Regions from separate parts of the Homo sapiens genome. Here all the other regions are linked to region 4. The links are contacts of gene promoters, found by promoter capture Hi-C in blood cells and fetal thymus (Javierre and others, 2016). All regions are on one chromosome and are shown on one strand. The core of a region is centred on a gene start or on the middle of the fragment in contact, and the rest is flanking DNA. Distances in the headings are between cores, read along the strand shown. Region 1 has its middle 120 kb from the start of SYT6. Region 2 has its middle 140 kb from the start of SYT6. Region 3 has its middle 96 kb from the start of SYT6. Region 4 holds the start of OLFML3 (olfactomedin like 3).

Region 1 (2,933 bases), core at 144-2,643, 290 kb after region 4:
GTTGTTTTGTTCTCTGGCTGTTTTGTGTTCAATTGGAGTAGATTTCCTTAGCCTTGGGTTTCTAGTATAATTATTCCACCACTGTCTCCCTTAATTACGTGGTTGTTGTCCTTCAACTCTTATTTTCATGTACGTTTATTCTGAGCTTCCTCCAATTCAATCCTTTTTTGGAAGAAAATGAAGCATAAAAGTATAAGTAAATAAAATAGCAGTTTCATGTGTATTGCTGTTACATTCCCAGATGGACTGGGGACACCTTGAAGCCAAGATTTGTGTCTTAGACTTCACTTGCTCACAGCCCCCAACACCTAAAGCGGTACCTGGAGGTGTTTCACAAACCCTTGTTTCAAAATTCACCAAACTGAGGGAGGAGGGTGGGAACTACCATTGTTGACCACTTACTTCCTGTCTGCTACTCTGCAAACAATATTTGAGCTCATCCACACAATAAGGTGTTAGTATTCCTGCTTGTATAGGATGACCCACATATCCCTCTTTGTTGGGGACCATCCCAGTTTTAACACTACAAGTCCTGTGTCCCAGACAAACCTTGGACGGTTGATCACCCTACACTTTAGAGATGAGGCCACTGAGTCTCAAAGAGATGAGTTACCTTCTCCAACTTGTCTTACAGATCCAAATCCAAGCTTGCCTGGAGTATGGAACTAGTTTATTAATAGGACAGATTAGAGTATAGGAGAAAAAGGAAGTGAGGTTGTCCAGGGCACCCTGGTCAAAGGCTCCGGTGTGCCCCAGCAAGTGGCCCCTGGGCACTGTTGCAGTGCCATGAGGAGTAGCTTAAAGTCCTACAGAAGAGACTGAGGTGGTTTAAAGAACTGTGAGTGGCAGGGCTTGGAGTTGGTTTGAAGATTAACCGCAGGGGTATAGTACAAAAGGGAAGGCAGCATGCTCAGGAGGGTTCTTCTCACCCAAACAGGCTACCTTGGACCCTGTGTTGCAGCCCCTGATGGTCTGTCTGCCTGCGGCTTGTATCACAGACTTGAGTCAAGCTGACTGCATCAGCTGACACTATATTTTCCACTAATAGAGTAACAAATGAGTAATTTGGACTGATCATTATTCCCTGCTTACTACTCATGTGCCAAGTATTTATGGAAACTAATACAGCATTCAGTTTACAGCTGATAACAGGGAAACCATTAGCTCCCCCTAGTCATCCCTCTTCCCTCTGGCAGAGAATCGCTCAACCTTGAAGGAGACCAGCTGAAGACTTTAGGCTGTATGATAAGGTTCACATTTCTTTTTTGTGACAAAGACATTCAGAGGCTCTCTAGCAACCTTTCTTGTGTTCTACATTTTTGCCTATTTAGTTTCTCTGCCTCTGAATCTACCTCTCTTCAAGTCACAAAAAATGAGGCCCTGTGTTACTGAAGATCCAAGACATGCAAGTTACACATCTGTCCCCAGCCCAGTTTCTGATACTTCCCAGACAATGGAATAATCCAATCACTTGCTTTCCTGAGGCTCAGGGGCCACCAAAGGCTGCATGTGTTGGCTTCTATAATCCAGTTGAACTCATTATGGTCACCAAGCTCCTCTGTGCCCTGCACTGTGCCCGGAGCTGGATACACAGGCTGAACGGCATGGTCCCTGTCCTCAGACTGCTCACAGGATATTAAGGTACTGACAGTCTTAAGGCATTTATGAGGAAAAAAATAGGTCATTATGGTTTATGTTGCTGGTGTGATTAAAAAGCAGTTATGTCCTTCAAAAGGCCCAGAATGATAATAAAATGGAGCAACACAAGGACATGCGAACCAGCTATCAGTTCAAAACAATATTTTCAGAACAACAGAATAAGAGGGAAAACAAATTTATTGCGACCTTGTGTGGATAACACCAGTAACTTCAGCTTCCTACCCTTGTTCGGAATTCTGCAATTTTTCCAGATTTGTTTATTTTTGATCATTGTATCCAAACACAACAAATTTTAAATTATATGTCTTATACACTCTAGGGGTTATTAAGCTAGACAATTCTGTGATTTTCCTTCTCAAGTTGTGTCTGTTACTGATCCTTATAGCTTCTTCGACAGATTTTCATAAATCAGATTTATATATAGTCATATAATTCAGGCTACATTTATGTTCTTATTATCAGTGAAATTAATGTCAAGTTAAAGCTTTCAATTTTTAAAGAACTGGTCTCAAGGAAAAATGAACTTTCACCCGAAATTGCTTTGATTTGCAACTCTTTCAGCAACAAGAACTCTAAAAGTCAATTTGTGGGTCTGGATTTGAGAGTTTGCTATTTTTAATTAAGTATATAAATCCCCTACCTCATTTTCCATTACAGCTATGTGTGGGGCCAACTTTGCTCTGCTGAAGTGCAGAATACATCATGTGTTTCACTAGCAGTAAATCCATCTCTGGAGACTTATCAGTGGCCATGATCTATCAAAGGTGGTCAGAAGATCAATGTTTCAAATACCCTCTAATGTGAATAAAAGAAACTTAGCTAATAATTTTTCCACATTAGGTTAGATTTACTTTAGGAAGCTTGGTATTACAATGGGCTCTCAAAAAGATTTTTAAAAATTTTAAATTCCCCCAAGAGAGAAAAAAATATATTCAAGAAAAGGCACTGAGAGTGGCACAGAAGATGAAAAGAGGTAGTATAACATTAGTCCTTACCAATAACCCAGCTTTGAGTTCCACCAGAGGCTCCAAGCCTATGTCTTTGTTTTACTTCATTAAGGCCAGACACTGACTTCTTAAAGTTTGAGTTTTTGAGGACAATGTCGCCAAGAACTTATAGGTCACCAGGACACCAGGACCACCTAGAGCTTCCACAAAATAAGCCACTGACCTGCTCTAGGGATTTCTGCAAAGCCACCTGGCTGTGCAACTGGACTAACAGCAGACTCACACTGACAGTCAATGCACAGAAGAGATGAGCTTCCCTCTGAGAAA
Region 2 (2,706 bases), core at 99-2,598, 320 kb after region 4:
TGAAGACATTCTTTGTTAATCCTTACCAGCAGTATTCTTTTATTATAAGAACTGGGAAACGCATTCTGCAGTGCCCCTGTGAGAACACAGCCTGTGTTTAGCGCAAATGTTGAACTAGGAAAATCATTCGCTTTCCAGTACTTGATGCCTTGAAATAAAGGAATTTTCCAACTGGAGTAGATACATAGGGCTGATGACTTCCGTTGGGTTAGAACCTGCACAGGATGTTTGCAGGGCACAGTGTAACCCTGATGACCACAGGAGGGACCAGGACAAGGAAAACCAGATGACATGGGCCCTTCACGTCACTCCAGCAGCCAGGAGCAAGCCACAGCCCAAAGGAGCAGCAGGATCCAAGGGGAGAGCCAAGAGTGTGGACCCCAGTTTCCCAGCCTTCCTCCAGAAGTGCACCCCCAAGGCAGAGACTAACTCTGTCTTGTCATTCTACTTTGTTCTTGACTCACACTTGAGCCCCTTCTCCTGGCAGGGGGCTTAGGGGAAGGGATATTGCCAAGGAAAGCCTTGAGTTGTCTCTAGAGGCCATAATGTGAAGCCAAAAGGTAGCTCACTAGAAACTCATCACTGGGATGTCCTTTTACCATCCCTGGTAAAAGGATACACAGGCTCTACTAATAGAAGACTCTTTTCTCAGTCAGTCAATAAATACACAAGGGCTGCTCCCACGTATTGTCAGGCACCCTGCTGGGTACTAGAGTAGAAGGGAGAGAGAGTTGCTGGCCTTGATGAGCTCCCTGTCCAACCACAGAGGGCAACTATTAAGCAAGTGAATGCAATTCTTAGAAAAAGTAATCCCAGAGTCCCATCAAAAGCACCCTGAGAACATGGAGATGAGCACTAGAAGAGTTACAGAAGAACTCGCATTTCATCTGGGCCTTAAAAGTGGAAAGTGTTTCAGATGACAAGCAGGAAAGGAGAGAGCAGTGTTTACACAGCCATTTCAATATGATTTTACATTATCAGAGATAAATCTGTACTTAGCTAAGCCAAAAGCTGAATTTCCCTTGCAACCAAACCAATGTGGTGGTTGTGAACCCACCAAGAAGCCCTAGGAGGCTGACTGCTGGCTGTTCATAGTGTACCGGCTACTTTAACTACTTAACCGTATGTTTGCTAAGTGAAGCCAACTGGCAACAGAATAATGGGGAAAGGGATTTACTTTACAACCGACTTGGCCAAATGACTCCTATCCCACTAAAGATGCTTACCTGGTGCATAATGCCTCACTTCTTGAAGCTCTCCAAGGAGACAGCCATAAAGAGCATTGCTAAAAGGTTAGTTCATATAGCGTACCTTGTGTGTACTATGAACCAAAGCAGCAGTGGCTAGCCTGGAATTCAATGGCTCAAGTTCCACAATCAGGAGGCTTTTTCCCCATCAGTCTCTTCTAAGCCCAGGAGTTAAGAGTGGCTGCTCTGGGGAGCTTCTGGCTAAACATGGAGACTAGAACACATGCTTTTATCTGTTTCCTACCAAAAGTCCACTAAGATGATAGTATAGTATTTAAAAAACAAACGGACTACAAAGACGAGACCAGGGAGGAAATTCAGCAGATAATAAATGTCTATAAAAATTTGGAAGCTGTGAAGCAGATGAGCAGAGATAATTTGGATCAAAGCCAGCAAGATGGAGGAAATCAAGATGAAGCGAGACTCTCTATACTTCAGATCTCTAGAAAGGTTCAGGAATTGAAGACACTATGTGCCTCAAAAGATAGAAGTACATATTGGGGCTGGAAAAAAGGCGATCAAAAGACTGAAAGAAGCAATGAGAGCCACCTATCCCTCCTCTTGCCTTGCCCAGGCTGACTTTTTACCCACTCAGTCTTTTTTTCTTTCTTTTTTTTTTTTTTTGGTCTAGCTTCTTTTTTTCATATTTAGCGGGACCAGGGATTTACTCCCTGGAGAAATGAACCATTCAGGCTCTTTGGGGAACATGGGGAGACTGGGTCCAACTGAGGATGGCTATTAGCCTCCCTACCGAAAACGGGGATCGTGTGAATACTTAGAACCCAAGTCCCGCCCACTCCCACCACCCCGCACCGCCACACTCTGCTCCAGAATATCAGAAGCCAACCTTATATTCCTCAAAGATTCTTCAATAGGGAAATTGGCCAGCTCAAGAGAAATGTCTACGGATGCTGCTTTGGGAGATCTTTAACAAAACAGCCTGGTTCCCATCTGATCACCACTGTTTACTGTCACCAGACAATAAGCCCTTTATATGCACACAGAGCTTTGCATCAGCATTTTAGCGCCTTACCATGCTGATAATGCCTTCGTGTCTTAAAAATGGACAAAGATTAACAGACATTTGGAGAGTACCTAGAATGTGAAAGAAATCAAAACAGACCAGTAGATAAAAGAAACTTAGAGGGAGACAGTAATGAAAACAAGAAAACATTTAGAAATCTGTAAATGTTATCCTTATAATAGGGTTAGATAATTGCATCCATGAATTTGAGAATAAGAGACTCTAAAAAATAAACATTCAGAAAATAATGAAGAGTTCTCAGAAGTTAAAAATAAAATCAAAAAATTTTAAACTCAATAGGAAGTTTGGAAGATAAAATTGAGGAAATTTCCTAGAAAGTTGAATAAAAAATAAGTAGAAAAAGGAAAGATAAGACAACTAGAGAATCCAATAAAGAGAATCAGCCTTTAAATAATAGACATTCCAGAAAGAGAA
Region 3 (2,938 bases), core at 360-2,859, 270 kb after region 4:
GAGGAGGAGCTTGCAGTGAGCCAAGATCATGCCACTGCACTCCAGCCTGGGCGACGGGGCAAGACTGTCTCAAAAAAAAAAAAAGTATAATTTAATAAAACGAAAAAAATGAAACTCTATCAGTGGCAACAGCTATAGACTGAATTAACCACCTAAGACCATTTCTTCTTCCCTCCTTCTTTCCTTCTTCCCCAGACTAACTCCACCCCCAATACCAGCCTCTCTGCAATGACCCCCTGCCCACACAATGAGACCTCCCACACAAGCAGCAGGGCTGTGCTTGGATGAGAAATCTCTCATTTGAGTGACTTAAGGAAATGTCTCTTACTCTTCCAGGGCAGGTCCTTCAAAGTTGCCACTTAGTTCAACTGAAGCCAGAGAGGTGGCCAGAAGATGAGATGCCAGCACTCTCCCTACAAAGTATCCTGGGTCCCGTGGCCTCTCAGTTTGGGGACATAAAACAAGGTCATGATTATGTTGATATCCCAATTGCAATGACTCTGAGCAAGCCCTCCCTTCCCCAACCAGAACTGAGCCCCTCAAGGGGCCCCTAGTAAATTCTGGGAACTGCCCCAGGAAAGCTTCACGTTGGGCACAGGCCAGGCTTCCAGCAGCACCAACCACAGGGGGCTGCCCTGAGGTGCCTCTTCCTCTGGCTTCCACTCACCCGTTAAGCAGCTTGAAAACGCCTTCAAAGGCCACCAATCCTGAGTTCTGTACGGAGGGAGGAGAATGGCCTTTCCCTACTCCGAGGCCGCACTTTGTCACCTGGGTCCTAAAGCATCCCAGCTTGTGCCCAGAATCTCACCAAGTCTGCCATGAAAATAATTCCATCCAATTCTGATCCTTATCCCTGTAGAGATGAAACCCAGGCCAAGGACAGACAGTGGAGAAGAGATCCATGAAACCCCTTCTTTCTTCTTCTCCCAATTACAAAGCTTAAGTGTCGTGCATATAAATAGAGACAGAGGAAGGGGACAAGAACACTTCCAATAACCGGGTTGCAGTTCAGCCAAAATTGCCCCTGAGGCACATAAATGAAAACCAGTCCAGTTAGATAAATCAAGGACATCTGCCTTCTCCCTGTGGCTCTAAATCAATGGCAGGTATATACCAAGAAGAGCACAGAGTCAGCAATGCTGCAGTCTGAATGGCGGGGAGGGGAGAGTGGAGAGGACGAAGCCACAAAGCTTTCTTCTTTATAAGAAAGTATTTATTTATAATACAAACATTTTGCCTCTCCTGGAGAGCATCACCTTTCTTCTTTTCGTTCCTTTTACCTGCTTGAAAGCACAGTTCATTGATTCAGGCTTTTCGCTGGGTCAGCCCACTTTCAACAGACTCTAAGGAAGAGTAGTTAACTCCTGCTCTGAGACCCTCAGGGCAACTGGGCATAATAGAATCTCTCTGAGACTCCTGCAGCCCTTGGCGAAGAGTCTATTCTAGGTATCCAGTTCACATTTTCTCTCAAACTAGTACTAAGTTGAAAAAATAGCATCATAGAGTCTGCCACTACCTGGAGTCAGGGCTTGGCTGTCGATTCAACACAACTACATCTCATCGGATGAAAAGTCAATTTCAATAATAAGATATCTGGGAAGGCTTCAGAAGCTAATTTTCCCATCCTTGGATAATCTGGTACTGCTGACTGACTGTTCCGGGGCGTAACCTGCCAGCCGGTGCCTTCACCAAACACAGAGCACTAGCACCCTGCCCTGGCACCCCAGCCCCGGCCCCTTTCCAACTGAGCTGCCGCACACGACTTGGGGAGCCATCTCTGGCTGCCATTCAGGGGAAGACAGATGGCTGAGAAAAGATTTTCTAGAGTTTCCTGACCAGATTTCTCTCCTATGTATCATGAAGCAAACCGTGGCTTTAAGATTCATCCCTGGAGCAGCAGGCAGCCACCGTCTCTGAGTCGAGTCCTGCTTGGTTGGGAATTTATTTCTAAACACTACGGGATTTGGGTCAGGGCTTGCATTTTAAGCAGCCCATTTTCATTTTCTGGGACATAGGTAAGAAGAGAGGACAAGCTTAGATTTTCACAGGTGGTATTGTTGCCATAAAAAGGGGTCCCAATCCAGACCCCAAGATAGAGTTCTTGAATCTTGTGCAGGAAAGAACTCAGGCCGAGTCACAGGGCTTGGGAGCACAGTGAAAGAAGCAAGATTATTGGAAACTACTCCATTATGGAGTAGAGAGTCCTTGGAAAGCAGGAGGAGGAACTCGTGTCCTTCCTTTGTTAGGGTCGCTACTTTTAAGAAACTATAAGGAGCTATAATTAAGCTTGAAATGTGCAGATGTATGCATTAAAGGTAGGGGCTATTGGTGCTATCAGTGACCACTCATCTTTCAACCTAAGCCTGCTCATTAACATTATCTTTAAGTCAAGTGGGGGGCACTCAGAACATCTGGATGTTCTGTGGGCTTGGTGAAAGATGTTCTGTATGGCCACAAATATTCTGCACTTATAAGTGGTGGCCAGCTTAGAATGTGGCTATTTTCAAACCATAAGTATTAACCTTATAGGTGCTGTGTGAGTGCCTAGTTACTCAATTTAAGATGGAATCACTCTGGTCATATTTTATTAAATCAGAGGCCTGGTAAGCAGGGGCTCCTCTAACATTATTAAATCAAAGAGAGAGGCAGACAAGAACAGTGAGATCAGGCAAGAGTCTGAAAATGGCACTGGATGTGGGACAGAGCTGCCCCATTGCACCACAGGGAGCTGAAGAGAAGGGCCCTGCCATTGACTGCCACCCAGCTGTAGGCCAGGTACCCTCCTAGGCACTTTACGTATGATAGCTCACTTATTCTTTGAATCTCTGACCTTAGCTGTTTCACTGATAAAGAAATTTTATCTCTTTGCTAACTAGGTGCTCTCCCTAGTGGTCACCTCTACTCATGTGGCTTCAGTGACCCTGCGTGTGTCAGCGAC
Region 4 (2,785 bases), core at 58-2,557:
GAGTCATGGTCCTTTTTACAGAAGGAACCTCTCATCAGATTCTGTTGATTCTAAAGTGAATAGAATTTCTCCCGATAAAGAAATAGGGGTTTGTTTCGATTAATGACTGCAGGTCTCTGAGTAAATGCTCTATTTGATTTTTTTTTTCGGCCCGTGTGTCTACCTTATGGCCCAAGTCTACCTTATGGTGGCCATTAATTCATTTTGGGCTCCTGCAGCCTTAGTTGGGATATAGAAATGAGAAACACTCAGAAATACCCTTTTGGACCACAACCAAGAGAAATAACCAATAGTCTTTTCTCCCAGTGGTAAGGAAGTCAGAATACATTGATCTAGACTGCAACAACATATATATATATATCAGATTCCGCCCCCCCGCAATACATGAATGTATAGTAAATTAGTGTGAACTCACTGAACACTCCTCAGTTTTGGTGAGAGACTATATCTGGCCTCTTTCAAGCAAAGGAAAGCCATGTAAAACAGCGCTGCTGTCAGCCTTAACTTCCAGACGATCGAGTTAATTTACTAACTTCTCAGTGACCTGTTTTTTTTTTTTTTTTAATCTCAGTTATATTTTCTTCCTTGGGCTAAATCAGATATTTGCATAGCCCCCAAAGTAGTAATTGGATAGTCTTGGGGGAAATATGCATTTCAGTGGTGAAAACCCCTGTAAATTCAATATATTTGGCTTTTGTGGAAAATTTTCCTCATGGGGTGAAGTCTAAGCCTTAGTTTCTGTATTATCATGAGAGATGACACCAGCTGCTTAGCACAAGGTGGCGCCAATGAGCTTTAGAATAAGTTGGGCTTGACCACTTGGGCCATTGTTTTCCTGCTTCCTCCCTTCAAGCCTCACCTCCCCAGCTCCCAGCTTCTACTGAACAAGGCTGAAAACCCACTCTATTGCAGGGAAAGGGAAAGATTAATGAAAAATGTCAGTTTCTTAAGTCAGCACTGGTGAAACTTTCCTAAAACAGGAATGGCGTTTGCTGAGTTTTCTCTGGGGTCTCTGCTTTCTGCAGCTAGCTTCCCTGCTTGACTGCCTAGAAGGCCTCTGCTTTCGGGTTTCCATCTCTTTCCCCTCCAGAGGACCCTACAGCCTAGGCGGGAGGTGGTTAAGGCTTCTGGCTGCTGTGCAATGGGGCCATCTGTGTTTGATCAATCCTGGCGGAAAGGAGGGGGTGGGGGTTGTAAAGAGAACTGAAAGCATTCCAGAGTAGTGAGAGAGACCCAGAGATCAGGAGAGAAGGCACCGCCCCCACCCCGCCTCCAAAGCTAACCCTCGGGCTTGAGGGGAAGAGGCTGACTGTACGTTCCTTCTACTCTGGCACCACTCTCCAGGCTGCCATGGGGCCCAGCACCCCTCTCCTCATCTTGTTCCTTTTGTCATGGTCGGGACCCCTCCAAGGACAGCAGCACCACCTTGTGGAGTACATGGAACGCCGACTAGCTGCTTTAGAGGTGAGGGACCCCTTTCTCTTCTAGCCCCGCCTAGAAGGATTCCAGGGCTATTGGTTCAACCAGTTTGTTAGGGATCTGGGGATAACAAGAAAGGGCTCTGTTAGAGTCTACAGAAAATTCTCTCTTAATAAGAGGACCTTCGGAATGACAAGCCCTCCTCTTACCCCACATAGAACAATTCCAAAGCAAATCGACTTTTGCGTTTTACCTCTGGGATTAGATAGAATAAGGGGGCAGAGTGGAAACGAGAGCCAAAATTGTGGGGCTGCATCTCCAGAGAAGGTGATGATTCTGTTGAAGTTGGAGGTTCCCGGGGAATCTATAACTTCCTGTCTTTTTAACAGGTTGAGATCCGTAGCATTTTAGTGTCCGAGAGGATAATTGCTAAGGGAGCAGAGACCTCTTCACACCTTCATGCGCTTAGACCTGCCTAGAGGCTCAGATGGCTCAGTGGCACTGCTCACAGAGAACACAGGCTGGAGGACATGGAGTCGGGGTAGGGGCCTAGGTGAATCTCAGCTAGGCTCTTTGCACATTTAGCACCTCTGCACATCTGGTTTCCTTTTCTGCAGGAGTGGAAGGGGATATTGAAGCCTGGCTGAGTTTGCTCTTTTTTTCCCATTCCTGACTCCCGAGTTGGGCCTCTCCCTGCCTGGGAGTTGTAACCCTGCAGCCTCCCTCCTGATCCCCCATCCCTTCAGGAACGGCTGGCCCAGTGCCAGGACCAGAGTAGTCGGCATGCTGCTGAGCTGCGGGACTTCAAGAACAAGATGCTGCCACTGCTGGAGGTGGCAGAGAAGGAGCGGGAGGCACTCAGAACTGAGGCCGACACCATCTCCGGGAGAGTGGATCGTCTGGAGCGGGAGGTAGACTATCTGGAGACCCAGAACCCAGCTCTGCCCTGTGTAGAGTTTGATGAGAAGGTGACTGGAGGCCCTGGGACCAAAGGCAAGGGAAGAAGGAATGAGAAGTACGATATGGTGACAGGTAAATAATCTGAAAGCAGGCCCCTAACTCTTCTCAGAACCGATATTCTTCCTTCCTTGCTTCTTACTCTTTTTTTCGCTTTGTCCCAGTCCATTGTGGCTCTGTCTTCTGGAATCTGTTTTAGGGAAACCTCTGTAATGCCAGGTCTATTAAGGAGAGGTTCTGGGGATCCAGGCCGCTGTGGTACCCGCTCTTTCTCAATTCTCCCTAAGATTGGAGGCAACCACTGGGCAAATGCTCACTATTCTCCAGATCACCCACCCTGGGGGAGTTCCTGCTGGAGGCATCTAATTCTTGCCTCTATTTCCTTTTCCTGTGCTTTTCTCATCAGACT

What was found. Contacts are between HindIII fragments. The CHiCAGO score rates a contact against its expected background, and 5 or more counts as called.
Region 1: a contact is called between a fragment that was not itself captured here and the fragment with the promoter of OLFML3 in region 4, in 8 of 17 cell types (M0 macrophages, M1 macrophages, M2 macrophages and 5 more). The highest score is 27.7, in M0 macrophages.
Region 2: a fragment that was not itself captured here is called in contact with the fragment with the promoter of OLFML3 in region 4 in 5 of 17 cell types (M0 macrophages, M1 macrophages, M2 macrophages and 2 more); the score reaches 15.9 in M0 macrophages.
Region 3: a contact is called between a fragment that was not itself captured here and the fragment with the promoter of OLFML3 in region 4, in 5 of 17 cell types (M0 macrophages, M1 macrophages, M2 macrophages and 2 more). The highest score is 16.7, in M0 macrophages.

The regions. Positions count from the first base shown.
Region 1 is chr1:114,269,365-114,272,297 of GRCh38, forward strand. No RefSeq gene overlaps it. Among named protein-coding and RNA genes, the nearest start is that of SYT6, 120 kb to the left of the region's middle. The HindIII fragment of the contact is 1,496 bases long and covers 646-2,141 here.
Region 2 is chr1:114,293,292-114,295,997 of GRCh38, forward strand. No RefSeq gene overlaps it. Among named protein-coding and RNA genes, the nearest start is that of SYT6, 140 kb to the left of the region's middle. The HindIII fragment of the contact is 8,600 bases long and covers 1-2,706 here.
Region 3 is chr1:114,248,134-114,251,071 of GRCh38, forward strand. No RefSeq gene overlaps it. Among named protein-coding and RNA genes, the nearest start is that of SYT6, 96 kb to the left of the region's middle. The HindIII fragment of the contact is 843 bases long and covers 1,189-2,031 here.
Region 4 is chr1:113,978,167-113,980,951 of GRCh38, forward strand. OLFML3 (olfactomedin like 3) reads left to right here and starts at 1,308. Exons shown (of 3, transcript NM_020190.5): 1 at 1,308-1,464; 2 at 2,166-2,451; 3 at 2,783-2,785. The coding sequence starts at 1,351. RefSeq lists an enhancer at 552-1,385. The HindIII fragment of the contact is 3,076 bases long and covers 1-2,785 here.